Regions from separate parts of the Homo sapiens genome. Here regions 2, 3 and 4 are each linked to region 1. Evidence: promoter capture Hi-C in 16 types of primary human blood cells and fetal thymus (Javierre and others, 2016). All regions are on one chromosome and are shown on one strand. Each heading gives the region's core, a stretch centred on a gene start or on the middle of the fragment in contact. The rest is flanking DNA. Distances are from core to core; before and after follow the strand shown.

Region 1 (7,208 bases), core at 2,184-4,683:
CAAGGGTAACTATACTCAAGACCTCTTCTAGTTTTTTTTTTTTTTTTATTAGAAGTCTTATAAAAGTCAACTTTTCCAACCCTTCCTGAGAAATATTCCTGTACACTCTCACTTCTGTGAAGTATTTCCTGAGTTTCTCTCTTTAGTAAAACCTTACTAAAAGTAAAATGTAAAATTCAACACAGTATTACTTTTGCTCTTTTCAATCATTTCCTCTGGAGCTAATCTAAACAGATAGGTGATCTGATTTTGAATTATTTCAGGTGACAGTTTTACTAATTACTTTGCCACTGCAAACATGGGCCTCCTTTTTCTAGCCTCCAAATCACATTCTCTACCACCTGCTGCATCATAAATAAGCTGATGTAACATATTTTAGGTTATTGTTTTAGCAGTACTCCACTTCTTGTACCAATTTCTGGACTAGCTATGGTCATTCTAGCTCCTATACATATAAATTCTCAAATCTCAATTTTTTCTCTTACAGTAAGTGCAAAAAGGGGTGTTTCTAATTGGGGTGGCTGTCTTCCAAGTACTGTTTCAGCCACTCATTCTTCTCTTTTCTGGCTTTGGCATCTCCAATACATAGTTTTGAAGGTCACCATGCTCAAAGGCATCAAGTTGACGAAGAAAGAGTAAGGGAGAATAGGAGGACTTCATTAACCCTAAAAATGAGCACATCATTTCCATTCATATTTAATTGGCTAGAAGTTAATCACGGCCAGGCTCGGTGGCTCACGCCCGTAATCCCAGCACTTTGAAAGCCGAGGTGGGGGAATCACCTGAGGTCGGGAGTTCGAGACCAGCCTGACCAACATGGAGAAACCGTGTCTCTACTAAAAATACAAAATTAGCCGGGTGTGATGGCACATGCCTGTAATCCCAGCTACTTGGGAGGCTGAGGCAGGAGAATCGCTTGAACACGGGAGGCGGAGGTTGCGGTGAGCTGAGATTGTGCCATTGCATTCCAGCCTGAGCAACAAGAGCTAAACTCTGTCTCAAAAAAAGAAGTTCATCACATGACTATAACCAACTACAAGGAAAGCTGTGAAATTTAGTTTAGCTGTGTGCCCGGGAAGAAGAAATAAGTTTCATGGGCTAGTCAGTCCCTGCCAGAGGTTCTAACGGGGGGAAAAAAAGATAAAAATAAAAGAAAGTGACTTTACATGCCTTGTCCATTTTAATAGTTTTGAACCTTATCCTACTAGTGAAACAGGATCATCATTTCACTATTATATTAAAGAACAAAAAACTCATTTTCTTCCAAACAATGAGATTACTTTAAAGAGAGCATTTTTGGTAGCACAGCACGATAGACACAGAGACTAGACTGCAGAGGGCTGACAAGTCAATTTCAGAAAACAAAAAAGACACTGATTGTAGACACTTTTTTTTTGAGATGGAGTCTCGCTCTGTCGCCCAAGCTAGAGTGCAGTAGCAGGATCTCAGCTCACTGCAAACTCCGCCTCGCAGGTTCAAGCGATTCTCCTGCTTCAGCCTCCTGAGTATAGAATACTTTTTAAAGAAAGAAAGTTTGCTTGTGAAGGAAATAATTGAAAGCTACAGAAGAATTAGCTAAGGAACCAGAATTTGTAGAAGGTTGACAACAGAAAAGATAATAAATGCATGAGAAAGAGGGGTATTGGAACTAGAATATGTATGAAGAGTTTATCTCATATATGAACAGGGAGTCTCTCATTCGTTGATACTGGAGAAAAGGCAATCTCAGGAAATTTCTAGCACTTGGAAAATTGTGAAGTCTAAGTTAAAAGTCATATAATAAAATGGGCTGGGATTTAAAGATTGCGAAAAGTATTCAAGTGGAAAGGGAGAAAAAGATGCTGAAGAATATACAAAGTAGGAGGGAGGGATGCAGCTGAAATTATAAAATCTAAATCAGTAGTGGTGAGATACACAATGCAGTGCTCTGTTCTACACTGGAACTCAGCAACGACTGTAGGAGAGGAATAGGCAGATGGTTACCACTCCGTATATATATTTACTATAGCACTTATTACACTGTAAAGCCCCTGGAAACAAGAGACTTTGATTCCACAAATTATGCGCACAGTAGGCACATGATGAATTTTTGTTTGAATGAATTGATTTAGTCATTGCCAATTCTGCCTTGGTACTCTGTAGAGTACTGGCAACTGCCCACATTTCATATGGTATGCCAATGCTAAAAAGAAAAAAAATGCTAAAAAAAAAAAAAATCCAGGCATATTCAGCTAAACTAAGCAGTCTTAAAATGGCAACTATGTCAGCTGAGACATACTTTTAATCTTGTGCCAGTACATCTGTCTTTGATGTTTGCTTCATTTTCCGTATGCCACTATACTCCTACTAGACCAGAAAGGGATAATTCTGAGTTCAATGGGCTCCACTATCATTTCAAAAGTCCTGAAACTTCTTCAGACACCTAAAAATGAACCCACAACTCCCATAACAGCATTCCTTCCGAGAGAAGTATACAGACAACAATCACTATTTATGCTTGCTTCCAAGCTGAATCGAAGAGGGCCGGAAGAGCTAAATCAGGGTCATTCAGTGAATCGTCTACAAAGTCTGGCACAGACCACGCATCCTTCCCGTGTCTTCCTCCCCTTGGAAACTTGAGGTGTAAGTAATGATCTTAGACATCTCCTAATCGACTGCCTTCATATTACACACGTGTAAACTCAGGTAGAGGATGTCTATGAGCCGAGCTTAAACTCAGGTAAAGAAGGCTCTTTTCCCAACACGACGCCATCTCTCATGATCCAAAGCTCTATCTCTCGATTTGGCGGTGGAAAAAAATGACCAGGAATAAAACTACGTACAGCAGTCCAGAACGAGGCCCCACCTCCCGGATCTGGCGGACCGGCCTCCCGTCAGCAAAGTGTCTGGACCGCGCTTCCGCACCTCACACTGCCCGGGGCCGGCTCCTCTCCAGCCTCCCCGTACTCCCCACACGCCGCAGCACTGCGCGCCCGCGGGGCCCCAGACCCGGCCCTTGAAATCTCACTTTCGCCTTTCGGCCACCCGCGCGCCACGGCTCAGGCGACGGCTGATGGCGTCACTGCACTTCCGCCTGCGGCTGCGTTCTAATCACAAGCCAGGAAGGAAGAAGGGAGGGCTGCAGGGCTGTGTGTGCGGGAAATAGCGAGGAAAGAGAAGAAATCCGGGAGCTCGCGGGCGCTCTGGTTGCAATCGCGCCCCCCTCATCTGTCCCCGCCGTTCCCCTTCGGAAGCTGCCCCAGGCACACTTCCCCGCTTCTTTCCAGTCTCCTCTCCTCTGGTTCTCCCGACACCCGGTCTCCCTGTTACGCCTCACCCTCCTTCCCTTGCTCCCTCCCTCTCCCTCCCTCCCTCCCTCCCATCGTCAGGCTCCCCGCCCTTAGTATCGCGAGACGAGGTGAGAGCTGGCGGAGCGGCGGCGGCGGCGGCGGCAGTAGAGGTGACCGAGGCGGTGGCGGCGGAGGCGGCACCGATTGCTGTGTCGGCCCCAGTGCGGCCGAAGTCGCGGTAGAGCGTAGCCCCACGCCCCTCCCCCGTCCGCGCCCTCCCTCTTTCCCTGGGGATGGAGAAGGCGACGGTTCCGGTGGCGGCGGCGACGGCTGCAGAAGGAGAAGGGAGCCCCCCGGCGGTGGCGGCTGTGGCGGGCCCCCCCGCGGCGGCGGAGGTCGGCGGCGGCGTTGGCGGCAGCAGCAGAGCTCGCTCGGCCTCGTCTCCTCGTGGGATGGTGCGAGTCTGCGACCTGCTCCTGAAGAAGAAGCCGCCGCAGCAGCAGCACCACAAGGCCAAGCGTAACCGGACTTGCCGACCCCCCAGCAGCAGCGAAAGCAGCAGCGACAGCGACAACAGCGGCGGCGGTGGAGGCGGCGGTGGAGGCGGAGGTGGCGGCGGCGGCACCAGCAGTAACAACAGCGAGGAAGAAGAGGACGACGACGACGAGGAAGAGGAGGTTTCTGAGGCAAGGGCCTGGTTTCAAAGGAAGGAGGGAGGAAGGGACTGTAAGGGATAGGGGCCGAAGGTGGGAGGGGATTTGGAGTGGGACAGATTCCAGTGGGTTGATCTCTTAGGGGCCAGGCTTTCGACTGCCCCCTTTCTTCCCTCGGCCTAAATCGTGAGGTGTGGGAATGTGGGGGAGGGTAGCTGACACGTGGGGGTGGGAGGACCACGGAGTTCACAGAGTTGGTGAACAGCCTGTTATCATGGGATGGCTCACTTGGTTAAGGATGGAGGGAATTGGTTAGATTCCCTGTTTGCACGCCGGGGGGTGGGGGGGTGGTCTGCCTGGGGCCAGTAGGGCCACCTTAGTCTGAGGCGGGATCGGGATCAAAGCGGGAGGAGTAAAATAATGGGTAAATGAGTCTCTTGGGGACCAACTAGGAGGTTGATCAACTTCTCCCAGTTGTGAGGTGGAGGGGAGCAGTTTGAGGGGGGACGTAAGGTTGTAATGGACTCAGAGCTAAGTGTTTGTGTATGTGAGGGACACGTGAGAAGCTGTACTTTTCCATACTGTTCTGCAGGGTTTTTCGTAACTATCCTGGCTGCTGAAGTAACTTCATTTCCTCGATCTCCCAGGGATTTTCGATGAACTGATGCTGTATTTGTATAAATTTATCAGTAACTTTAAATAATTACAAATGACCATATACATTTGTAAGTGGATGAAAAATATATTTGATCCTTACACGTACATACATACATGCCTTCGAATGTTTCCTTAGTGAGTTAGAATTAAGCTAGGACCTGTTGTCCCGTAATATGGGACAGCCAAAGGGTAGGCTTTGGAGCCAGGCCTGGTTGTGGTGAGTTGGAATAGGAAGGCCTCTCGGTTTGTCCTAGTGATCTGGTTTCATAATAACTTTATAATTTTTCCTGGGTCCACAGACAGGCGGCGTTGCAGGACCTTATTCCTCACAGAAGCCCTTACAACCCAAAGGCTCAGTAAAACATACCATACTGACAACCAACTGAGAGTTAGCTTTACTAGTTATTAGCTGTTTTACCACTCTCTTGTCTCCTTCCTGAAATAGAATCTAGAAAAATCTTTATTTGGAGAGGGAAATCTTTATCAGCAGAGGGAAAACAGCTTTAAAGGCTGATTTTAAACTTAGTTCTAAGAGGAGACCAAGTGATTCATCTAAAAGTACCACTTACTATTTATTCTCTTCCACAAACATGGAACTTATTTTGATGCAAGTCTGGTTTTCCGAAAATTGGAATTATTGAATCCTGGTCTCTGTTGAAATAGAGAAGTACCTTTTAAAGGATTTGACACATGTCTATTTGTAGAAGACCAGATTCTCTTTTATCTCAGACTGGATGAAGTTGTATAGGTAGAGATATTAAGTGCTGAAGTATGTATGACAAAAATATGCCAGTCCTTGTTTTTATTCCCTTTTAGCCTGTTGGATTCTGAGAATAGGTTTGTATTGATAGACTTATATTGGCCTACTTGGATGTTTAGGATAGTGTGTTGCTCTGGCGGCATTTGAAACAAGGAAGAGAAAGATGTAATGGGGTCCTTATCCCTAATAAAATTTGTTATGGTACTTAGAATCATTCAATTGTATGATTCTTCTCAAAGGTGAGAAACATTTTACAGGTAATTCAGCCCTTTATTTTAAAAAGGAGGAAAACAAGGTTTAGAGGAAAGTGGTTGTGGTGGGTAGTAGCAAAAGTACAAATCAAAGTTTTCTAATGTCTCAGACCTGTACACTTTTTAATAATAATTTATTTCCTTTTATCACCCTCCTGATATCATTCAGAAAAATAGTTACTGAATAGCAAGGTAACACAATCATGCAGCTATAGGCAAAATACCATTACTTAAAATTTTAAATTCTCGTGAAACTATTAAGCTCTGGTTTAGAGCAAGGTTATGATAGTTGAATGCAGTACTTACTGGGATATTCTGCTGCAAACTTAACATACCTAGGTAGTTTTGTCCATTGGAATGCGGCCTAATAAGCAGAACTTTTAGTAATTCCTTAAATCATGAAGAATGGCTGTAAGTTTGTAGGTATGTTTATTTTGTGGGTCAGGTTTGTTTTCCTTTTGTAATATAGGAATGGTTATGTTGACTTTCACCAACTATGGTAGTATTTCTATGTTTTTAACATACCTTATCCTGTCTTTTACATGGTGTTAAACAATGGGTTTGTCATTTATGAAGATGAGTCAGGAGAAATACGTGTAAGAAAGTGTGCCCATTGGCCGGGCGTGGTAGCTCACGCCTGTAATCCCAGCACTTTGGGAGACCGAGGCGGGCGGATCACCTGAGGTCAGGAGTTTGAGACCAGCCTGGCCAACATGGTGAAACCCCATCTCTACTAAAAATACAAAAAAATTAGCCGAGTGTGGTGGCAGATGCCTGTAATCTCAGCTACTTGGGAGGCTGAGGCAGGAGAATTGCTTGAACCCGGGAGGTGGAGGTTGCAGTGAGCTGAGATTGCACCATTGCAGTCCAGCCTGGGCAACAAGAACGAGACTCTGTCTCAAAAAAAAAAAAGTGTACCCATTTAAAAAATCTATACAGATGAGGGATGAGCAGACAAAAAGGAGTACAGATTGTCTCTGCCCCATCTTCATCTTTTGATCAAAGTAAAGACAAATAAAACTGTAAGCTAAATGGGTGAGTTGTGTAATGTTTTTCTCTTAATTACCATTTTACTGACATGTCAGCAGAAGCCTAACTTTCTGGAGCTAGGAAGTCTTGTGGCTAAAATCACAGTGTTGTCTTTTCTCTAATTCATTCTGTTATAGGCTACACAATAAAAAAAAGTAGATAAAATGATCTTTAAAATTATCCTTCCAGTAAAAATCATCAAAAGATTAAAAAGGAATGTGAAAGGTTATGGTTTTGTGGTATTTAACCTGAAAGGATAACTTTAATTTAACAAAAATACATAGCTTTGCTATAAAGAAATGCTATCTGAATAATCTCTGTATCTGCCAAAAGAGGAAAAATGGAAGGAAACGAGAATCAATTCAAATAAGAGCTTCATTTAATTGTTGAACAATAAGAATATAATTTCTAGACATTGGAGTAGGTTATTGAGAATAGGATTTTACTTTAAAGTATTTCAGAATAGGGTAATCACGTCTTAGATAATTTGCATAACTTCGGGTATACCTGGAAACAAATAAGACCAAGAGCTACTTGCCTCCCTCTCCCCATCTATTTGACACAAAATCTTACATTTAAAATTGAAAAT
Region 2 (7,208 bases), core at 2,637-5,136, 2.5 Mb after region 1:
CATTTCTGAAATTAATATAATGATGCTTAAAGGTCTAACTGAAGCGTTCTGCTTCCATTCTTGAAAAAAACAGAGAACACATGTTCTCTAAAATTTTCATGGTGCTTTAAAAGTTCCTTTACTTTGAAATTCCACTTACTTCCAACATTGCTTCGGTTAAAAAAAAAAAAAAAAAAAAGGAAAGAAATCCCACTACGCTTTCACAAAGTAAAACAAACAAACAAACAAAAGTCTGAGAGGTTATTTCAATGGTGGTACATGTTTCCCTAAATTAAGAAAATGCAAAATGAATTTTCTATAAACAAGGCTGCTCCTCTAGCACTGACATGGCACAAGCAAAGTAAGAAAGTAAGCCACATTCTCACATCTCTGAATGTCCATTTAAGTCTCACTCCTTTTATCTTCACCCCCGCCTTTCCATGTGAGGATTCCAACTCTTAATGTAAATTAGGGTACAGACTTAAGCCAGGATATGTAATCTGGAAAAGTATAAATCTGATTAATGCTTCTGTGGGGCGGGTAGAAGGCTCAACTGAAAGAGTAATGGGCGGGGCACGGTGGCTCACGCCTGTAATCCCAGCACTCTGGGAAGCTGAGGCGGGCGATCACCTGAGGTCGGGAGTTCGAGACCAGCCTGACCAACATGGAGAAACCCTGTCTCTGCTAAAAATACAAAATTAGCTGGGCGTGGTGGCGCATGCCTGTAATCCCAGCTACTTGGGGAGTCTGGAGAGTCTGAGTTAAGGAGAATTGCTTGAACCTGGGAGGTGGAGGTTGCAGTGAACTGAGATAGCGCCATTGCACTCCAGCCTGGGCAATAAGAGCGAAACTGTCTCAAAAAAAAGAAAAAAAAGAGTGATGGTAGTGCTTTTGTTAGTCACAATCTATTAAGCATCAACAACTCAAATGTTCTCTTCCTTCTATATTCCCTACTGGTAAAGGGAACCTAGCTTCTGCAGCCAGAAGTTGGAGAGTCATCCCAGGCACTGCCTTATGTTCATTCTCCAGCCACCCAGCCCCTCAGTCATCGGGTACATTCTGCTTTTCCAGGGATTGTTCCTTTGGTGTTCACTCTTGCTACCTTAATGTGAGATTGTCATCTCTTACCCAGACCATTTTAAAAGTTATAGTTAGGGGTCCCTGAGAGCTTATATCCTTCTGATCCATTCACTACACTGTTGCCAGAGTGATCATTCCAAACACAAATCTTATTTTATGTTACTCCCAGACATAAAGCACCAGTAGCTTTTCACTACAGAATCAAGTGCAGGCTTTTCAGTATGAATAAGATTTCTACAGTCAAGCCCCTGCTTATCTTTCCAGTCTTGCTCCCTGTTGTGCCAAACAGAAGCCCTCTGTGCTCCTGTTGCTATTCCCTGGCTGGGCCAGCTCACTGTGTACTGTTTGAAATGCCCTCCCTATGTCGGTCTGGTGATCACCTGTTTATCTCTTAAGGTCTCACTTAATGAAGCCTCTCCTGACCCTTCTCCTGTGGAGTCAATCACAGGCTCTTGCCTTTAGGGGAAATCTATTTGCAATTAAACTTGTTGTAGATTTGCTGTTGGCTTTTGAAAATAAGAGTATATAAGCCGGGCATGGTGGCTCACACCTGTAATCCCAGCACTTTGGGAGGTCAAGGAGGGTGTATCACCTGAGGTTGGGAGTTCGAGACCAGCCTGATCAACATGCAAAAACCCCGTCTCTACTAAAAATACAAAAATTAGCTGGGTGTGGTGGCGCATGCCTGTAATCCCAGCTATTTGGGAGGCTGAGGCAGGAGAATCGCTTGAACCCGGTAGGCAGAGTTTTCAGTGAGCCAAGATTGCGCCATTGCACTCCAGCCTGGGCAATAAGAACAAAACTCTGTCTCAAAAAAAAAAAAAAGAGTATATAAGACAAAAGAGAGATAATCCCTCATTGACCACCAATAAGCATTGAGATAATGAAGTGAATGCTTTTATTTTCATTTATTTAAGGGTTAAAGTAGGCAGAAACTCTAGGTCCAGGCCTATACTGCGGACTGCTCAGTGAAGGGCCAGGAACTCTGGTTTTAAGAAAATAAAATATGGAAGCCACAGAGCCTCTATTGCTGAGTACACACAGTCAGTCTACATCATTTTAAGAGGGAACATTATGCTGTTTGCCTATTTTCTTTTGTGGGAGTGAGGAGACTTCACTCTAGGATTTGGGTGGTCAGATGTTTTTCCCTCTGTGAATCAGCCCGGAAAGCAGTCTGAATACTCCCGCGTCCAGACATCAGGAGTTCCATTTTGTGAACAAGGTGAGATTCACATAATCATGGGCCTGGTGACCACCACTTAAATGCTTATAGCTAAATTAAATCTAATAACTATCAGTGGTATTAACATAAAAGTGGGTATTTCTTGGGACCAAATGACTGTTTAAATATCCAGAGTTTGGTAATGGAGCAAGGCAGTAATACTCACAGGCTTTCATGGGACTATGCTTTCTTTATTTTCATTTCTAGTAATTTAAAATAATAGCTTTCTTGCCCAATTTAAGGCAAAATTCTAAAATGCACTGTCGGCATTTCTCTATTTTCTTCCAAATCCTCTATAGTTGATTACAGGTCTTGGAAACTCTGTATTTATCTGATTTCTTTAATCAGCAGACATACAATTTATTACTTAGATTATAGCTCTCACACATTTTCCATACTGAGAAATGTGTTGCTACAGATTTCTCTATGAAGAATTCAAATGGCGCTGCTAAAAACGCTTACATGAACCAAACAGCTCACTTTTGCTTATCCATAGGAATCCTGCTCCAAAAACATATATTTGAGGTGTTAAAATTGTTAAAAATTATTTTTGAGACACTGGTAAACTAGATTTCATGATAAAGGGAATATTTCATATTGTATAACTCTCAAATTGGACGGGAATACATTTTTTTCAAACAAAATATGTAAACTGAGGCAGTTGCCAGAAGACTTCTTGGTAGCCTTCTAAAACTGTATTTTTCTTCCCTAAAGACTTTTAAAGCTTTGGAGGCTGTTTTAAGTAGTACTGGAATTGTTGGATGTAACGATGTTTTGATGAAAATATAGAATAAAATAATAATAAAAAATAAATAGTACTGGCATTGCATGGAATTTCAGCTGATGTCTTATAACTTGTGCACATAACGAAACATACAGCCAAAGAAAGCTGTCTAATTAACAAACCAATTGTTAAAAGATGCAAAGGGTCTTAAAAACCACTTAAACATTGTTCTTAAAGACACACCCAAAATGACTGCTTTGTGTTCTGTGTTATTAACCATCCCTAAAACTTTCTCAAGGCTAAGGCTGACTGGGAAGATAAAATGCTTATCAAACACAATGGGAAAATTCTGAGTCATGATAAGATTTCAACTCAAGGTCAAAGGCAGAGAATCACCTTTCCTAACCCCATCTGCTAGGTACAATTCACCTATGGTCTTCTTTGTCCTGTCGATGTGCCTAACTATCAGGCAGATGTTTATAAAGAATTTCTCCTCATATGCAAGCGTTTTTTGTTTTTTTTCATCAGTATAAGGACAGAGAATAAACCTTAGCTAAGAAGCAACTGTATTAAAAACAAAACGATTTGTAGCTATGATTCAAATCAGCTCTCTTTCTGTGGTATTAAGAGAATTAAAGGGTAGAAGCAGAAAACCTCTCATAAATTAGCAAGAGTCCTGGAAAAAAGTCGCAAGTCAAGAGACCACAAAGATCTCAGAGGTACTGACAGTGGAAATCTCAAATGGATCATAATAGTTACCACAAATAATTTATAAAAAGCAATGGCCAATAGATTCCAATATTACCATTCTATTGTAATCTATAGGGATGCCATATTAATCATATTTAACCTTTCCAGGCATTATGCTTTCTTAGGAGTCCATATTCAATAAATAAATGCTGAAAAGTTATTTTCTCATCTAACCTAATAATCCATATTGTTAAAAAAATGTTTTATCAAACATTTCCTAGATGTCATAACTTGCTTAAAATTGTATCCTCATATAATGGTGAGGATACCATTACCAAATACCCTGGTGTTTCTACTGTATTCATCATGTACAATCCTATAATTATAGTCATGTTGTCTTAACTTAGTGTTATAAATCACTACAATTTCTATAACATTTTCATATATGAACAAAATTAATAGCTTTCTCATTATTGAATAGAATCAGATGTGATAAGTGACCTCAAATGTTTTATTTAGAGGCTTAAAGACAAAGAACTCTAAACGAGTATCCAGCATCTTTTGAAAGGATACCTAAAGGGGCAAGAAAAAAAATTATCTTTCCCCCATGAGCAAGAGAAGGGGAGCTGGGTGGTAAGTAAGGATGCAAGGTTTTCAGGACTGTTAACAGTTGAGAGTGTAGGTTCTTTCTACCTCTCCCTGATCCTCCCAGCCCTCCCCCATAACAATGAGGATGCTGGTGAAATACTAGCGGACAGGATCTGACCATACCTTCATGGGTAGGCTCTGGGTCAGGTGTAAGTGAGATGTCATCCAGCTCTCGCAGGCAGAGCCATTCTCCATCCATGGACACTCGGAATTTGCAAAGGTAGATGGTCTCCATGGCAGCCTGTGTGATCTTGTCAGTGGTGGGGGTTGGCATATCGGTCGGAGGCGTCAGAGCAGACATGATGACTCAGCTGGGACCACAACACACACACAGACACACACACACTCACACACACACACCAAAAAAATAAATACAACCTCCTCACCAAAAAAACCCAATACAAAGCTCTGAAACAAAGCTTTCAGGAAAAGGGTGGGGGAGGTTTAAAAAAAAAAAAAAGGAAAAATACCTTATAGGTTAAGAACAAACTGCTCAAGATAAACAATTCTACACTATCTTATAGACAGTTCCTACCACATAGCAAAATAAGATGATGCTTGTCTTCTCCCAGCTTCCTCTCCTTTTATCTTCCCTTCCCTGCCCCCCACCTTTTTTTTCAGCTGAGCTATAGGCTTTAAATCCCGCACAGCTGATGCTGCCTTAGCTGGCTTTAAAAATCTGGCCTCGATATGAGTAAGTGAAAAATCCTCCTCCTTTGTGCAGAAAAAAAATATAAAAGAAAAACCTGAACAAAAAATAAACCTATATTTTCAATGTAGCTTAAAAAAAAAATCCTGAGCTGCAGAAATCACTTCCAGGATCTGCTCAGATGAGCTGGGATGCTGAGTTCTCATAGGATTGGCCGTGCGCAGTAAGCAGGGTGTTGACCAAAATGGCTGACTAATGAACTGAACTGAAAATTCAGGCTCATGTGACCAGCTGCTCTGAACGTAGGGCAAGCAATTCCCAGGATGCTTTATAGATGCTGCTGATGCTGGGAGAGCAATTAGGCTTCTCTCTCTCATCCTGTACAACCCACTTCCAGACTGTGCTAGTCAAACTGTGATCAGACATAACACAATGCACATATCCTCATCAATTCTTCTTACTTTGGGATCAAGGACTGAATAAAAGGATGACAATTAATACCGGATAATAATCTATAGTAAAGATGGTAAAAGAGGCAGTTAGATTAATTTAACAAGCATATAATTCACCTCTTTCATTCTTATCTACATAGCTATTAAAATTCTTTACTATGCTAAATGTTATGTTTTAAGAAAAGCTAAAGCATAAAAAATTGAGGTTCTCAGAGGGAAAAAAAACAAAAAGATAAAAAGAAAAGCTAAAGTAGATTTTCAATTTAAATATCTTATTCTTGGGCATTTATAATTTCCTTCTCCAAGGTACAAAAACCTGACCTTTTAGGTTAGGCAGAAATGCAAAAAAAAAACTTCAAGTTAAAAAAGTAAAATCTTTCCCAATTAATGGCAATTTCCCCCCTTTTTGATTTTGTTGTATTTATCAAGTTTCTGTATTAAGCATAAAATACGTTTCTTTTTTTTTCTTTTTTCTTTTTTGAGACAGAGTCTTGCTCTGTAGCCCAGGCTGGAGTGCAGTGGCGTGATCTCAGCTCCCAGGTCCAAGCAATTCTCTGCCTCAGCCTCCCGAGTAGCTGGGATTACAGGCACCCACCACCACGCCCAGCTAATTTTTGTATTTTTAGTAGAGACGGGGTTTCACCATCTTGGCCAGGCTGGTCTTGAACTTCTGACCTCATGATCCTCCCACCTCAGCCTCCCAAAGTGCTGGGATTACAGGCGTGAGCCACCATGCCCAGCCTTAAGCATGAAATATGTTTCTAAGCAGATTAAACCATGTTATATTTTTAAAATCCTCCCATTCGATAAGATACTGAAGACAATTATATTTTCTTAATACACACACACACACACACACACACACACACACACACACACACACACGGCCCTATATTATCCAATGAGGCATTTATACCTTGGTAGCAAAAGGGCAGGTACTTGCTTTATGAACTACATAAATTACAAAGAGAAGAATAAGAATTTTCTTTGAAAATGTTTTGGACAATTGAAAGAAAGTGTTTGTTTGTTTTTGTATTGAAGGGTTCCAATTTTAAGGAGGAACATACAAATTCAAGAAATATGACCTGAGACTATTCCTTTCTAGGGATTGTTATCAGAGGGACATCTTGATTTACCTAATTTCTGAAAACTAAAAAAATTCTCCTTGAATATTGTTAAAATCTCAAATGCTTCATCATAATTTGAGACTGAACTGAAAGAAAAAAATGCTAATAATCAAATTCTGTAGAGAAACTGGCATTTTCATATTGTTACGAAGACAGGGCGGATGGCTGGGCGCGGTGGCTCATGCCTATAATACCAGCACTTTGGGAGGCCAAGGCGGGCAAATCACCTGAGGTCAGGAGTTCGAGACCAGCCTGGCCAACATGGTGAAACCTCATCTCTACTAAAAATACAAAAATTAGTCAGATGTGGTGGCATGTGCCTGTAATCCCAGCACTTTGGGAGGCTGAGGCAGGTGAATGGCTTGAGCTCAGGAGTTTGAAACCAGCCTGGGCAACATGGCAAAACTCCATCTCTACAAAAACAAAAATTAGCAAGGTATGGTTGCGCGCACATGTGGTCCTAGCTACTTGGGAGACTGAGGTGGAAGAATCACGTGAGGCCAGGAGGCAGAGGCTGCAGTGAGCCGAGATCATACCACTGCACTCTACCCTGTCTCAAAATAAAAAAAAGAAGGAGGGTATACTGGTACAATGTAAGAAGGCATATATATAGGCTTATTTATAATTGGGGAAAATC
Region 3 (7,208 bases), core at 1,187-3,686, 2.4 Mb after region 1:
GTCTACAAAAACCACAACAAAACCATCTCCAGTAAACCTTTGTGAGCTAGCTTCTCTCTTTTTTTTTCTATGAAATTGACTGCGGTGATATCTGTAGAGCATCTACTATGTGTTAGACACTGCTTACATTTATTCCTTAAAACTAAACATTAAGCCTTTTTTTTTTTTTTTTTTTGGAGACCGAGTCTCGCTCTGTCGCCCAGGCTGGAGTGCAGTGGAATGATCTCGGCTCACTGCAAGCTCCGCCTTCCGGGTTCACGCCATTCTCCTGCTTCAGCCTCCCGAGTAGCTGGGACTACAGGCGCCCGCCACTGCGCCCAGCTAATTTTTTGTATTTTTAGTAGAGACGGGGTTTCACCGTGGTCTCGATCTCCTGACCTCGTGATCCGCCCGCCTCTGCCTCCCAAAGTGCTGGGATTACAGGCGTGAGCCACCGCGCCCGGCCTAACATTAAGCCTTAATGAAAATTATAGATAGGGCTGGGCGCGGCACTTTGGGAGGCTGCGGCGGGTGGATCACCTGAGGTCAGGAGTTCGATAGCAGGCTAACCAACATGGTGAAACTCCGTGTCTACTAAAAAAATGCAAAAAAATTAGCCGGGCGGGGTGGCGGGCGCCTGTAATCCCAGCTACCCGGGAGGCTGAGGCAGGAGAATCCTTTGAACCCGGGGAGGTTGCAGTGAGCCGAGATTGTGCCATTATACTCTAGTCTGGGCGACAAGAGCGAAACTCCGTCTCAAGAAAAAAGAAAAGAAAAGAAAATGACAGATAGTAGAAAGATATCTCTGTCCTTAGTCCGGTAGAGTGCAAGTCTTTTTTTTTTTTTTTTTTTGAGACGGAGTCTTGCTCTGTTGCCCATGCTGGAGTGAAATGCCGAGATCTCAGCTCACTGAAACCTCTACCTCCCGGGTTCAGGCGATTATCCTGCCTCAGCCTCCCGAGTAGCTGGGATTACGGGCACACGCCACCACACCCGGCTCATTTTTTGTATTTTTAGTAGAGATGGGGTTTTGCCATGTTGGCCAGGCTGGTCTTGAACTCCTGACCTCGTGATTCGCCCACCTCGGCCTCCCAAGGTGCTGGGATTACAGGCGTGAGCCACCGCACCTGGCCCAGTAGAGTGCAAGTCTTAAAGCCTGAGTTGTCTTCTTAGGTTATGGTTGTAGTGCTTCGTGGATTCTTACTAAATTCCAGTTTTACTTAATCCGATAAAAGAGACTTTACAAGTCTGTAGCCTCACACTGCTGCCGTTGTCTTTAAGATCTTTCCCTTAATCACTTGGTCTGGCATACCAGCTGACAGAGGAATATTCCCAAGGCGTCCTGCTGTCTTGTTGATTTACCCAGTCCTCAGTGTCTTGTATTAACTTATCTTTGCCTACCAAGTGAAGGACACACATTGAGCTCCACACTCAAGGCCCTCTGCTCTATGGTACCAACCTCTTTTGCCAGGTCACCTTCTTTGGCTCCTAATTTAAACAGTTGGAATTAATTGCTGTTATTCAAATGGGCATTTGGTCGTACTGCTTCTTTCTCTCGCCTTCAAACTGGAATACCCTATCTTTTATATCCTCATAAAAATTCTATCCTTCCTTCAAGGCCCATCTCATGTCACATCCTGATTCATCTGTTAGTGCTCTGATTTGAATTCCTGTAGTATTTTGTATCTTAATTATAGCACTCAGTATCTCATCTTGTATGCTTATCGTATTCTAGATAGCTATTTCAGATGAGGGCGGCAAACACTGTGTGTAGGGGCAATCAAATATTTGTCAAATTGTCAGGACCTTTCTTGTGTTGCCTTAACTACACTATTGTTAGCTATAATTTGGGGTTGATGAATTTTAAAACAAACCCTGAATGAAATTTGTGTCCTGCCAAACCTTTAGGATATACCTGCTTATGGCTTTTGGATGTACAATTTAAGCCAAAACAGGATGGGTTACATTGGTGAAGTTTACTTTTTGCTTCTGAAATAACATCTAGAATGTTAGTTTGTAGAATAAACATTTTCTAAGAATTTTTTTACATTTTTTACCTGTAAATGCAACTCTTTTTACAATTCTTCATTTCCTTTGGAAGGAGTCCAAAACTACTTACCTGGAAGACCTTCCACCACCCCCTGAGTATGAATTGGCCCCGTCCAAGTTAGAAGAGGAAGTGGATGATGTCTTTCTCATTCGAGCTCAAGGACTGCCCTGGTCATGCACTATGGAAGATGTGCTTAACTTTTTTTCAGGTATATTTTATGTATGTTTTATTTATTTATTTTTTTTCCTTATATTGTTTCTCACAAGCAGGTATGTATGTTTTAAGTATGTAATTTTGTCTGAGTAAAAGGTAGTGCTACAAATCCATGTCAGACTACGCTGTCACCTTCCTTTTTGATGGTTGGGAACTGTCTCATTCTGGTTGGTTGCATATACCAAATGATACCATGTGTGCTGTTTGCGGTATGTAACGAATTGAAAGACTTTGGGCCAGGGGCAGTGGCTCAGGCCTGTAATCAGCAGTTTGGGAGGCCAAGGTGGAAGGATGGCTTGAGGCCAGTAGTTCCATACCACACTGGGCAACACTGTGAGACTGTCTCAATTTACATATGTATAAAGACTTTGAATGCAACAAAAGTATTTTAACGTTAAGACTGCATAGTATGGGCCAGGCGCAGTGGCTCACGCCTGTAATCCCAGCACTTTGGGAGGCCGAGGCGGGCGGATCACAAGCTCAGGAGATCGAGACCATCCTGGCTAACATAGTGAAACCCCGTCTCTACTAAAAATACAAAAATTACCCAGGCTTGTAGTCCCAGCTACTTGGGAGGCTGAGGCAGGAGAATGGTGTGAATCCGGGAGGTGGAGCTTGCAGTGAGCCGAGATGGTGCCACTGCATTCCAGCCTGGGCGACAGAGTGAGACTCTGTCTCAAAAAAAAAAAAAAATCCATCATACTATGTAGGTTTTTTTTTTTTTGAGACGGAGTCTCGCTCTGTCGCCAGGCTGGAGTGCAGTGGCATGATCTCAGCTCACTGCAAGCTCCGCCTCCCGGGTTCACACCATTCTCCTGCCTCAGCCTCCCTAGTAGCGACTGCCACCACACCCAGTTAATTTTTTGTATTTTTAGTAGAGCTGGGGTTTCACCGTGTTAGCCAGGATGATCTCAATCTCCTGACCTTGTGATCTGCCTGCCTCGGCTTCCCACAGTGCTGGGATTACAGGCGTGAGCCACCGTGCCCGGCTGGTATGATGGAATACTACGTAGCCATAACAAAGAGTGAGATTATGTGCTTTGCAGCAATGTGGGTGGTGCTGGAGACCATTATCCTAAGCAAACTAACATGGAACATTAAACTTAATACTGTATGTTTTCACTTACAAGTGGGAGCTAAACAATGAGAACACATGGACACAAAGAGGGGAACAAGAAGACACCAGGGCCAACTTGAGGGTTGGGGAGAAGATTAAAAAATACCTATCGGGTCCAAGTGCGGTGGCTCACGCCTGTAATCCCAGCACTTTGGGAGGCCGAGGCGGGCGGATCACGAGGTCAGGAGATCGAGACCATCCTGGCTAACATGTTGAAACCCCATCTCTCCTAAAAATACAAAAAAAATTAGCCGGGCGTGGTGGCACGCTCCCGTAGTCCCAGCTACCTGGGAGGCTGAGGCAGGAGAATCGCTTGAATCTGGGAGGCGGAGGTTGCAGTGAGCTGAGTTCACACCACTGTACTCCAGCCGTGGTGACAGAGAGAGACTCTGTCTCAAAAAGAAAAATAAAACCTATTGGGTACTGTGCTTGCTACCTGGGTAACTAAATTATCTGTATACCGAACTCCCATAACACATGGTTTACCTATGTAGCAGTCCTATACATGTACTAAATAAAAGTTGAAAAACAAAATTACATGGTTTGAAATTATTTTTCTCTGTGGTATTAATATATACATATCAAAAAGTCAAGCCTGTCAGTGGAAATATGGAATTAAGGGTGACTCTTTATGTAATACAGACATTTACAATAGAAGGTCACTTAGTATCAAGGAATAAAGTTCCCTTAATAACATGTTTGGAGGGTTTACATATCTGTGGGATTTTTTTTTTTAGTTTCTGTATCTGACTATGATTTATTTTTATTAATTTTTTTGAGATGGAGTCTTGCTCTGTCACCCAGGCTGGAGTGCAGTAGCGCAATCTCGGCTCATTGCAACCTCCACCTCCCGGGTTCAAGGGATTCTCCTGCCTCAGCCTCCTGAGTTGGTGGGACAGCAGGCACCTATCACCATGCCCGGCTAATTTTTGTATTTTTAGTAGAGACAGGGTTTTGCCGTGTTGGCCAGGTTGGTCTCAAACTCCTGACCTCAGGTGATCCACCACCTTGGCCTCCCAAAGGGCTGGGATTACAGGCATGAACCACCATGCCTGGCTATTTCATTAATTTTTTTAGCTGCTCCTTGTGGAGCAGGAGTAAATCCTAGGCAGTATGCCCAGAGTGAGCCTGGTCAAACTTTTTTTTAAAGCCACTTGGCCACTTACATCTTGGACTACTCCCATTATAAAAAGTATGCAGTATGAAAAGGGGAAAAAGGCTGGGTGTGGTGGCTGATGCCTGTAATCCCAGCACTTTGGGAGACTAAGGTGGGAGGATTACTTAAGCCCAAGAGTTCAAGACCAGCCTGTGCAACAAAATGAGACCGCCTCTCTACAAAAACAAAAAGTTAAACTATGGTAATAAAATTACTCATACAGGAAATATTTTAGAGACCTATGGAGATGATTTTAAAGGAAGACACTTATGTATAAATTTAACTATATTGTATTTCCTTAAGTGATTGTAGAAACATTGCAATAGAAATAATGAATTTTGTGTTGGGCCTATCCTGATTTGCTATTTAATGATCAGGAAGGAGATCATAAGCTTCTGTGCTAAGGTTTGCTTATCTTTTCTACTTGGAAGGTTTTAGAGACTAAATCCTTATTGGTGTTTGGATGACTTCAGTGATGGGGATTTGTGTAAGGAATATGACACTTGTTTCCTGCTTTGTTGTTGGAAAACTGCATTCTTGTGACTTACATAATTGAGCTAAAAGTTTGATTTCTGTTTTCAATTGATTTTGCTCATACACTTTTAGACTGCAGAATCCGCAACGGTGAGAATGGAATACATTTTCTCCTAAACAGAGATGGGAAACGAAGGGGTGATGCCTTAATTGAAATGGAGTCAGAGCAGGATGTGCAGAAAGCCTTAGAGAAGCACCGCATGTACATGGGCCAGCGGTATGTGGAAGGTATGTGAAGTCAGATTATGGCTTTTTGGGATCATTGCATTAGGTTTTATACTTTTCAAGGTAGTTTTTATTTGATCCTTAATAATGAAGTATTTAGATTGTATGAATGCATTCTTTTATAGGATGTGAAAATAAAACATAAAGAGATAAAGTTTCTTTTTTTTGTGGGGGGGATGGAATCTCACTCTGTCACCCAGGCTGGAGTGCAGTGGTGCGATTTCAGCTCACTGCAACCTCTGCCTCCTGGGTTCAAGCAATTCTCCTGTCTCAGCCTCCCAAGTAGCTGGGACTACAGGCACATGCCATGATACCCAGCTAATTTTTGTATTTTTATTAGAGATGGGGTTTTACCATATTGGTCAGGCTGGTCTCAAACTCCTGACCTCAGGTAATCCACCCGCCTTGGCCTCCCAAAGTTCTGGGATTATAGGCGTGAGCCAGTGTGCCTGGCCAATGAAGTATCTTACAAGCTGTGAGAAATAAAGAAGTTATGCCCGCATGGTAAATATGCAATAAATGTCATTTGTTATTTTCTCTAGAGAAGCGCATAAAGATTAAAATAGTTATTGAATTCTCAGATAACCCAGCAAGTTGTAATGATTTTTTTTAATGGGTTTGTTCCTTTGTTATGTAAATTTTTCATCCCTGTTGGGTTTTTTCTTCGTAGTATATGAGATAAACAATGAAGATGTGGATGCCTTAATGAAGAGCTTGCAGGTCAAATCTTCGCCTGTGGTAAATGATGGTGTGGTTCGTTTGAGAGGACTTCCTTATAGTTGCAATGAGAAAGACATTGTAGACTTCTTTGCAGGTACTTTGCAGTTGTATTATGCTTGGGAGCTCATATCTTTTTTCCCTTGGTATCTCCTTCTATATCTTAGATGAGCCTGTTTCTGGGCAAAGGCATGCAGTTATATTAGGTTCTTTAGGGGAGAGCTCTTCACTTAAATTTCTAATATTTATAGATTTTATATGTGTTTTTGTTCTATCAGGCAGATTTTAGGAGGGAAGTCAGATTTCAGAATAATTTCATGAGGGTTTTACTATTGAAGGAAATAACTTCTCATAATAGTTGCTGTATTTGTGTAAGACAATAACAATTTATATAATTTAAAAGTATTTTCTAATTCCTAGAACCATTAGCAGTGAAGTCTGTGATTTCTATTGTTTCCTAGTATATAATTAACAGCAAAAAAAAAAAAAAAAACTGGTGGGGAGAATTGTATGTTTTGGGTGGGCTTCTTGGACCTTACCTATTCTGGAAATACAAGTATGTAGGTGTTGACTGACTTTTGACTGCATAATAATTTTCTTCCTGTCAAGCATGTATTCAGTTTTGGGACTGGCAAAACAGAATAAAAATTTTATTAGTATGTGAATGATGGTGTTAATTCTAAGGATAAAAAAGCCTGCTAGTAGCATTAAAATCTCTTGGTGTCCTAGGACTGAATATAGTTGACATTACTTTTGTGATGGACTATAGAGGGAGGCGAAAAACAGGGGAAGCCTATGTGCAATTTGAAGAACCAGAAATGGCCAACCAAGCCCTGTTGAAACACAGGGAAGAAATTGGTAATCGGTGAGTAAAGCAGATACTAATGATGCAGAAGTGTTACACATTAAGTCATTTTGATGAATGTGCTGTAATATGACTGAAAAGTTATCCAAACATAGAAAAGTAGAGAGAGTAGTGTAGTGAGCCATCAAATGCCCATAATTTAGATTAACAATTTTTTTTCGACTGCTCCTTTTTTTTTTTTTTGAGACAGAGTTTCACTCTTTTTGCCTAGGCTAGAGTGCAATGGCACGATCTTGGCTCACTGCAACCTCTGCCTCCCTGGTTTAAGCGATTCTCCTGCCTCAGCCTCCCAAGTAGCTGGGATTACAGGCGCCTGCCACCATGCCCGGCTTTTTTTGTATTTTTAGTAGAG
Region 4 (7,208 bases), core at 2,953-5,452, 2.3 Mb after region 1:
TTTTATTTTTTTATTTTTTGAGACGGAGTCTTGCTCTGTCGCCCAGGCTGGAGTGCAGTGGCACAGTCCGCCTCTCGGATTCAAGCAATTCTCCTGCCTCAGCCTCCCGAGTAACTGGGACAACAGGCAAGCGCCACCGTGCCCGGCTAATTTTTTAATGTATTTTTTAGTAGAGATGGGGTTTCCCCACATTGGCCAGGCAGGTCTCAACTCCTGAGCTCGTGATCCGCCCACCTCGGCCTCCCTAAGTGCTGGGATTACAGGCGTGAGCCACCGCGCCCGGCCCACAGGGCGTTTTTAAAGCATGCAGACACAGTCCACAACAGCATTGGCTAGCATTTCAACTAGTCTTTCTCCCAAATACCATTAGTGACTTTGAGCAACTGTGGCTACTACCATTAAATATTCTTAACCTGAAGATTCAAACACAAATGCCTCTAACATAAATACTTCTGATACTCTGAGAAGACTTCTAAAATACACGTTTTGGCCAGGCGCGATGGCTCACGCCTATAATCCCAGCACTTTGGGAAGCCAAAGCTCATGGGTCACCTTAGGTCAGGAGTTTTGAGACCAGCCTGGCCAACATGGTGAAACCCTGTCTCTACTAAAAATACAAAAAATTAGCCGGACATAGTGGCATATGCCTGTAATCCCAGCTACTTGGGAGGCTGAGGCAGGAGAATCACTTGAACCCAGGAGGTGGAAGTTGCAGTGAGCTGAGGTCGTGCCATTGCACTCCAGCCTGGGCAACAGAGCAAGACTCCGTCTCATAAATAAAATAAAATAAAATACACATTTCCTTTTGGAACTTGGTAAATGATTCTCCAATATTATTAATATTCCTTAATGATCTGTAATGAAGACAAAATATTAAATAATAGCTTGGTGAAGAGGTCAACAAATGATTATTACTGTGCTAACTGTTCTCACTGTAATAGTATATATTATAGAAAACATACACCTGCATACTGCAGAATAAAGAAAAAAGTGAAAAAAGTAAAACAGAAACACTGGTTTCAAGTTCAGACACAGTAGGGTTTTAAAACCGTAATCCAAATCAGTGACTTGTACAATTTCTGAGCTTTAGTTTTCTAAGATGTTAAGACACTGGTTGTTGTGAACATTACAGAAAATAGTGCCTAACAAATTTTAAATGTTCAACATATTCCATATGCCATCAATATTTCCCTTGGAATGTGTTTAGTGTGGGAATGCCTATAGCAAAAATAAACAGTAATGCAAAGTCAGGATTCATGGCCAAACGTAACTATTTATTCATTTTTTTCTTATAAACATTGAGTTTCTTCTTTAAAAAAAAAAAAACACCTAGAATTTAAATATTTCCCATCCCATCACATACAAGTCTGTATACATTATTTACATCTTTTGAATAAAACATATTACAGATTTTCTGACATCAGTATCCCTTTTTAAACAAAAATGAAGCAATTAAACTTTGATCAGTAACAACTACAATTTGCATAATCCGGCACAGTTTGTAATATAGCGCCTATGTTGGATTTCATAACTTAGATGATTTTTCCCCTTCTAGTTACTTGATTATAAGAGAGAAACTGTCTCCATGAGAGTAGTTCCCTGTCTTTATGCACTCTTCTCAATACTTGCACAGTGTAAATGCCGCCCTTATTCTTCCATTACTTGGCACTGACAATATTCCTCTGCTTTTGTCTTCAGAAATGATTTCTATTTGAACTTTAAGTGTTCTCATATATACTGTATTCTCCTTCAACCCAGATTTCATGACACTGTTCCTAGTGTTAATTCTATGCAGTAAAAGTTAAACCTATAGGAAAAGTTCAAATAAAACATCAAGTAAGTGTTTCCTACAAGATTAGTGCCCTCACCACCCTGGTTATGCATGTACAATAATAAATACAAGTTAGTAGCTCCAAAAAAACTACTTTCCCTAAAAAGTCATTTCTGTCGAACAATTTAAGGAGCAAAGCATCCTTAAAATGAAAATGCACTAATCTTTTTTACAACCTGCACAATTAAGTATTTCAGAAAAACAAAAACTTGTGCAAAATGGTAAGAAACGCCCACCTATACAAATTTAATATTAAATCAGATGAGAACATGAATTTATAAGTAAAAAACAATTTAATATTAATAATATATAGAGAAATTAAATATTGAAATTTTAACTTTGTATCACTAATAATCTCAGCTTCAGTGAAATAATTTAAAAAAAGCTGTCAAACACTAATTTCCTAAATAAACTGAAACCTATGAATTGACAGTAAATACTTCAGAATCTCTAACAATGAAGACCTGCAAAATCAGCCTAATTATTTTCCAGTGTGTGTGTACACGCACAGTGGAAAAACATACAGCTGGAAAAAGCCAGTGATTTTACTATCTACCTTTGAGAACTATAGCCCATATTTTTCAATTATTTAGTTCTATATGCAGAAAAAGTTATTACATTTGCAAAACTCATTTTTGTATTTTCTCTCTTTTGTCAAAATGTGAATCAGTTCAGCTACAAGTGACAGACATACAGTGCAGTTTTATACCTTCAAAATGGATTATTCTCTGTGATCAGCCTATTAGGAAAGCCTTAAAAATTCAGAATCAACTGTGGTCAGAATTTTTGTTACATCTTCAAATTAAACTTTTCCATTAAATCTTAAGATAGCTTTACTGCTAAACATTTATCATATCATACACAATTAAGGTGATAGCTGAACAACAGTGATTTCCACGGTAAATTTTAATATTACAACAAAACTCTGATATTTAAGTTATTTAAGAGTAGTCCTTAAAGTGTTTCTAAGAATTGGTATATATTCTTTAATTTTAAAATAAGCTTAAAGTATAAATCTGTGTTTTTAAGAATTGGTAGATTCTTTAATATCCCAGATAAATTTCAAAATAAGGTAAGTTTTCTTATTGGTATGCAGTCACATTTCCAAATTATAAATATATTTTTGGTCCCACATCTTTTAAAAAGACATTAAAAGTTATAAATATATGAAAAGGTTATACAATTCTAAATATTTTGTGATATGTAGGCTTAAAACTCAGCATAATTAGTATATGAAACTTATTCCTATTTCTTTGTACAAAAATCTCCAGTCTTTTATTAAAGTCAAATTGTTCATCTGAGTGAAAACATTTAAAAAAAAATGGCAGTAAAGGCTGTTGTCTCCTTAAACTACTTCTATCTTAAATATTGGATCCACTTTTCCATAGTATCCATTCAATCAATACTATCCTACAGTAGTTAAAATTAAATTGAGAAGTTTTCATGAAAAGGAACAAAAATAGAAAACAAGTTCTAGAGAAAGGACTTGGTTTTTTTCCATTAGTATATCTAACTAAGGTAATTAAGGTAAGGTAATTAAGCTGAATGTTTTTAAAAAGTAAAACCTCCACATCCAAGTGATAATTTCCACTTCAAAATAGTGACATCAGGAAACTATTCTTTTATTCAATTATGCTACCAATGCTTAAAACATTCTCTTGTGCAAATTCGGAAATCATGGCACATTCCTTTGAACTTCCCTAATGGTTTAGCTCCAGAGAACAGCCAAATTTAAATTACAGTTGAGCTGATGATTAAGATAGGTCATACTGGCTGGCTGTGGTGGCTCACACCTGTAATCCCAGCACTTTGGGAGGCTGGGGAGGGCGGATCACTTGAGGTCAGGAGTTTGAGACCAGCCTGGCCAATATGTTGAAACCCCATCTCTACTAAAAATATGAAAATTAGCCAGGTGTGGTGCTGCCTGTAATCCCAGCTACTTGGGAGGCTGAGGCAGGAGAAATGCTTGAACCCAGGAGGTGGAGGTTGCAGTGAGCTGAGATCATGCCATTGTACTCCAGCCCGGGCAACAGAGCAAGACTCCATCTTAAAGAAATAAAAATAAAAAAAATAAAAAAAATTTAAAAAGGTCATATTAAGCTGCCAAAAGTGTTTAGTGTAACTAAAATGATGAAACTGATTTTCCTGCATAATAACAAACTGCTTTTCATGGTATGCTCTAGAACAGTTCCAAAAACATTATACTTTTGCAGTATAGCTGGAATAAACAGTGCTCCCAAAAGAACCACTCTGAAGATGAACTCTTATTTGGATGTTAAGGCATGACTTATTCACCTTAAAAAGAAAGTTCTACAACTCAATATTTGTATCTCACATATTCTACCATTTCAGTGGTTATCAAAACCTGTCTCAGAGAGGGGTAAACAAAAGTATAAATGAAATGTTGTTTTGCTATTTTCCCATAAGCAAGGAAAATGCTAATATATAAAATGGAGTCTGGTGGTTATATATGTAATATATAAATATCCACATCATCTCTATTTCCTGATAAGAGACTGTAGTGTTTTATCCATCCTGATAAGACAGGCAGTAACTCAGTCTGAGATATATTATACATAAAACGTATCTTCTCCTACCTAATACATTTTATGGTGACCATTTAGAATTTACAAATGACTAACAGAGGGAAGGTAGAAAGAGACTGCAATTAAAAGTCTTCCAATTTAAGGTAAATTAACCTCCAAAACCTCTACCAGCAACTAACATGCTTGTTAATTTAGTGCAGTCTAATGCCATGGTTTTTAAGAGAAAGGGAATAATCAAGTCAGCAAATGAAAGCCAGTAGCACCATCTACTGCTAATTAAAATATTTTCACTCTTTTTGTTATTAATTTCTCTCTACCACCACTACTCCATCAATTAAAGTAATTCCAAAACATTGCTTCGTATCAACATTTAACCAAAAAAAGCATTGTGTGTGACAATAATACTATGTTAACTTACTACTTTATATTTTATGGGATGCTTTTATCAAAGGATAAGAAAACCAACTGTTGCTTTATAGCTACGTATTAATATAGAGAGCAAGGGGGAAAATAATTATCTTGGTTACTTACAAATTAATTAAAGAAATCCAAAAAGAATCCAACAGACATTTATCAGCAAACTCTGCTGCAGAACAAAGCACTGATCCTTATATTTAAAAGGGCATCTTACTAACTTTCATGGGAACCAACCAAATCAACCTTTTATTACATCAGTTCTTTCACTTTCTGATTTTTTCCTTACTTGTAGCCATGTAACACCATGTGCAATGCCAGGCCTCTCCCCTAGAGAACTGCTATGCTTTGTTACCATATATACACATATATACATCTCCTTACTTCCCAGTGACTGTGATTAAAGAAATACTCTAAGCAGGCACCTGAGATTCTGGCACAGTGAAAACAAACTATCTACATATAGTGGGAAAGTAGGTCTTACTACTAAAAACAAGTACAGTGTACTACTGTATAAGGCTTGAAAGGGCAAGATTAATTTTTCACTATTCTCTCTATACTTGGCTATTGCAACTCCTTTTTTACTAGATTGATATGAAGTCAAATACAATATGGAAGACTGAGTAATTCTGTGCTTCATTTTCCTATATGGACAAGATTCAAAATCACCTCACAAATTTTATTTCTGAATCAACCCATAATGATTCATATTATCTATCTGAATACAAAAAGATTTAAGGAAATTAACTAGCTCTGACTGCAGTTTATAAATAAGCTTTACCAATAAATGTCCAAGATATTTAACTCTGCCAGGCTTTCCTGTTACTTCTACTGTTGGTACTTGGTAAATAATTGCTAGAAATGAAGTGGAGAAAAAGGCAGTTTCTAGTCAACATAATTGTAATGGCATTAAATTGTATCACTGCTCTACTTTAATGGCAAAACAAATTCATTTAATTTTAGATTCTTTTCTACTGAGTGTTTTTAATCTATACTATTTCAGAGCAAGCATTTCTTCCTAGATGTGAAAAAGGTATATGTTTCAACTGAAGGAAGGATATATATTTCTAACTGAAGAAAGATTTATCGAAAATGACAAAACTAAAACTGGATTTCTAAAAAGGGTATTTTCTAGAATAAAACTGAAGTGGAAAAATTAATATTTATTCTAAAAACTAAGTTTCTGAAATTGTTATTTATGGTAATAATTCACTAGAAAGTCATGGCGAATAAAATTTAGAAGTTAATAACTACTGAATTAGCATTTTTCATTATCTAATACTGCTGCAAAGAAAAACATTTCCTTTCAGGGTGGAAAAACCAGAAGTCAGAATGCTTCAAACTGGACCTATAATAACCAAAGAAGGTATGGTATCATCTTAAAATGACAGGCAAACATCAGCTCCATTCACTGAATGGAAATGCTAAGAAGTGATCAATTTCCCCCAACAGTCCTTAAATTCCATGTTTAATGTCTGTACCTAAAATTAATAATTTATTTTTAACTTCTCATGGAAGTTGATTCCTAAAAGGAAGTCTCTAAGACTTTGTTTATAAGTAATTGATTAAAATCTTCATGCCATTCTATTCAAAGGTTTTCAGACAAAACTTTCTAGAACTTGACTCCCCATCCCTAACTCCTCATACATACGAACATCTCCATGCCCCCAGCCAAATATACATTCCTATCCCCTTCTCTTCAAAGTAGAAGGGAATTCTGCAGACTTACGGCTCATTTGGCAATTACTAGGAAACCTCACAGTTCAGCATCACCTCTGAAGATGGCAATCCTATATATAACCTGAATTTTTACATCTACAGTGCAGTTAACATGTAGAAAGAAGCCAAAATGTAATACATTTCAACATCCTCAAGTTTCAGTATCACAGATATCAAGAGGTGGGAAAAGACCTGCTTGTAGAGCTTTAAGCATTGTTGAACGTAATATATTACCATCAATATAAAAAATAATTAAGAAATATTTTTTATGTTCTACATGCATACCTTTACAAATTCTGTTTCTTCAAAGCAGTAAAGGCTGGAAATCACCATTTTAGGTAAACTATGGCTTTTATCATAGATATGTTACAACATGCACCAGTAAGTGCCCTGGGTAGTAATCCTAATATTGTTTCAAGCCCTGTTCAGTTCTATATCTATGTTTTGCACCTCAGAAGTGAGCCTGCCAAGGCACTTAAAAACATAACTCTTTTGGGGACTTCATAAATGGGCCACAATTTATACCACACAGAAACCAATCCATCGGCAGTTCAATCAACAAGCACTTTCTTGCAGCACACAATATTATTAAAAAACTCCTCAAGTAACCAAAACCAAGTTTAAAAACACTAAGATAAATTTACCCTTATCAAGTGTATAGAGAATGGTTCTTGGCTTCCCCTAGCAATAGAATATGG

The links. Contacts are between HindIII fragments. The CHiCAGO score rates a contact against its expected background, and 5 or more counts as called.
Region 2: a contact is called between a fragment that was not itself captured here and the fragment with the promoter of ANKRD17 in region 1, in 2 of 17 cell types (naive CD8 T cells and total CD8 T cells). The highest score is 7.9, in naive CD8 T cells.
Region 3: a contact is called between a fragment that was not itself captured here and the fragment with the promoter of ANKRD17 in region 1, in 1 of 17 cell types (activated CD4 T cells). The highest score is 6.4, in activated CD4 T cells.
Region 4: a fragment that was not itself captured here is called in contact with the fragment with the promoter of ANKRD17 in region 1 in 1 of 17 cell types (non-activated CD4 T cells); the score reaches 6.4 in non-activated CD4 T cells.

What each region holds. Positions count from the first base shown.
Region 1 is chr4:73,255,023-73,262,230 of GRCh38, reverse strand. It overlaps ANKRD17 (ankyrin repeat domain 17), which reads left to right and starts at 3,433. Exons shown (of 34, transcript NM_032217.5): 1 at 3,433-3,955. The coding sequence starts at 3,563. ANKRD17-DT (ANKRD17 divergent transcript) reads right to left here and starts at 3,065. Exons shown (of 5, transcript NR_187399.1): 1 at 2,823-3,065. RefSeq lists enhancers at 2,912-3,181, 2,784-3,380, 5,781-6,281 and a silencer at 3,342-3,741. The HindIII fragment of the contact is 8,436 bases long and covers 1-7,208 here.
Region 2 is chr4:70,720,010-70,727,217 of GRCh38, reverse strand. It overlaps RUFY3 (RUN and FYVE domain containing 3), which reads right to left and starts at 5,254. Exons shown (of 18, transcript NM_001037442.4): 1 at 4,467-5,254. The coding sequence starts at 4,644. The HindIII fragment of the contact is 1,757 bases long and covers 3,008-4,764 here.
Region 3 is chr4:70,831,187-70,838,394 of GRCh38, reverse strand. It overlaps GRSF1 (G-rich RNA sequence binding factor 1), which reads left to right. Exons shown (of 10, transcript NM_002092.4): 2 at 2,081-2,237; 3 at 5,122-5,277; 4 at 5,945-6,088; 5 at 6,721-6,856. Among named protein-coding and RNA genes, the nearest start is that of GRSF1, 5.1 kb to the left of the region's middle. The HindIII fragment of the contact is 4,947 bases long and covers 1-4,909 here.
Region 4 is chr4:70,982,214-70,989,421 of GRCh38, reverse strand. MOB1B (MOB kinase activator 1B) reads right to left here. Exons shown (of 6, transcript NM_173468.4): 6 at 1,254-7,208. Among named protein-coding and RNA genes, the nearest start is that of DCK, 7.8 kb to the left of the region's middle. The HindIII fragment of the contact is 2,733 bases long and covers 2,836-5,568 here.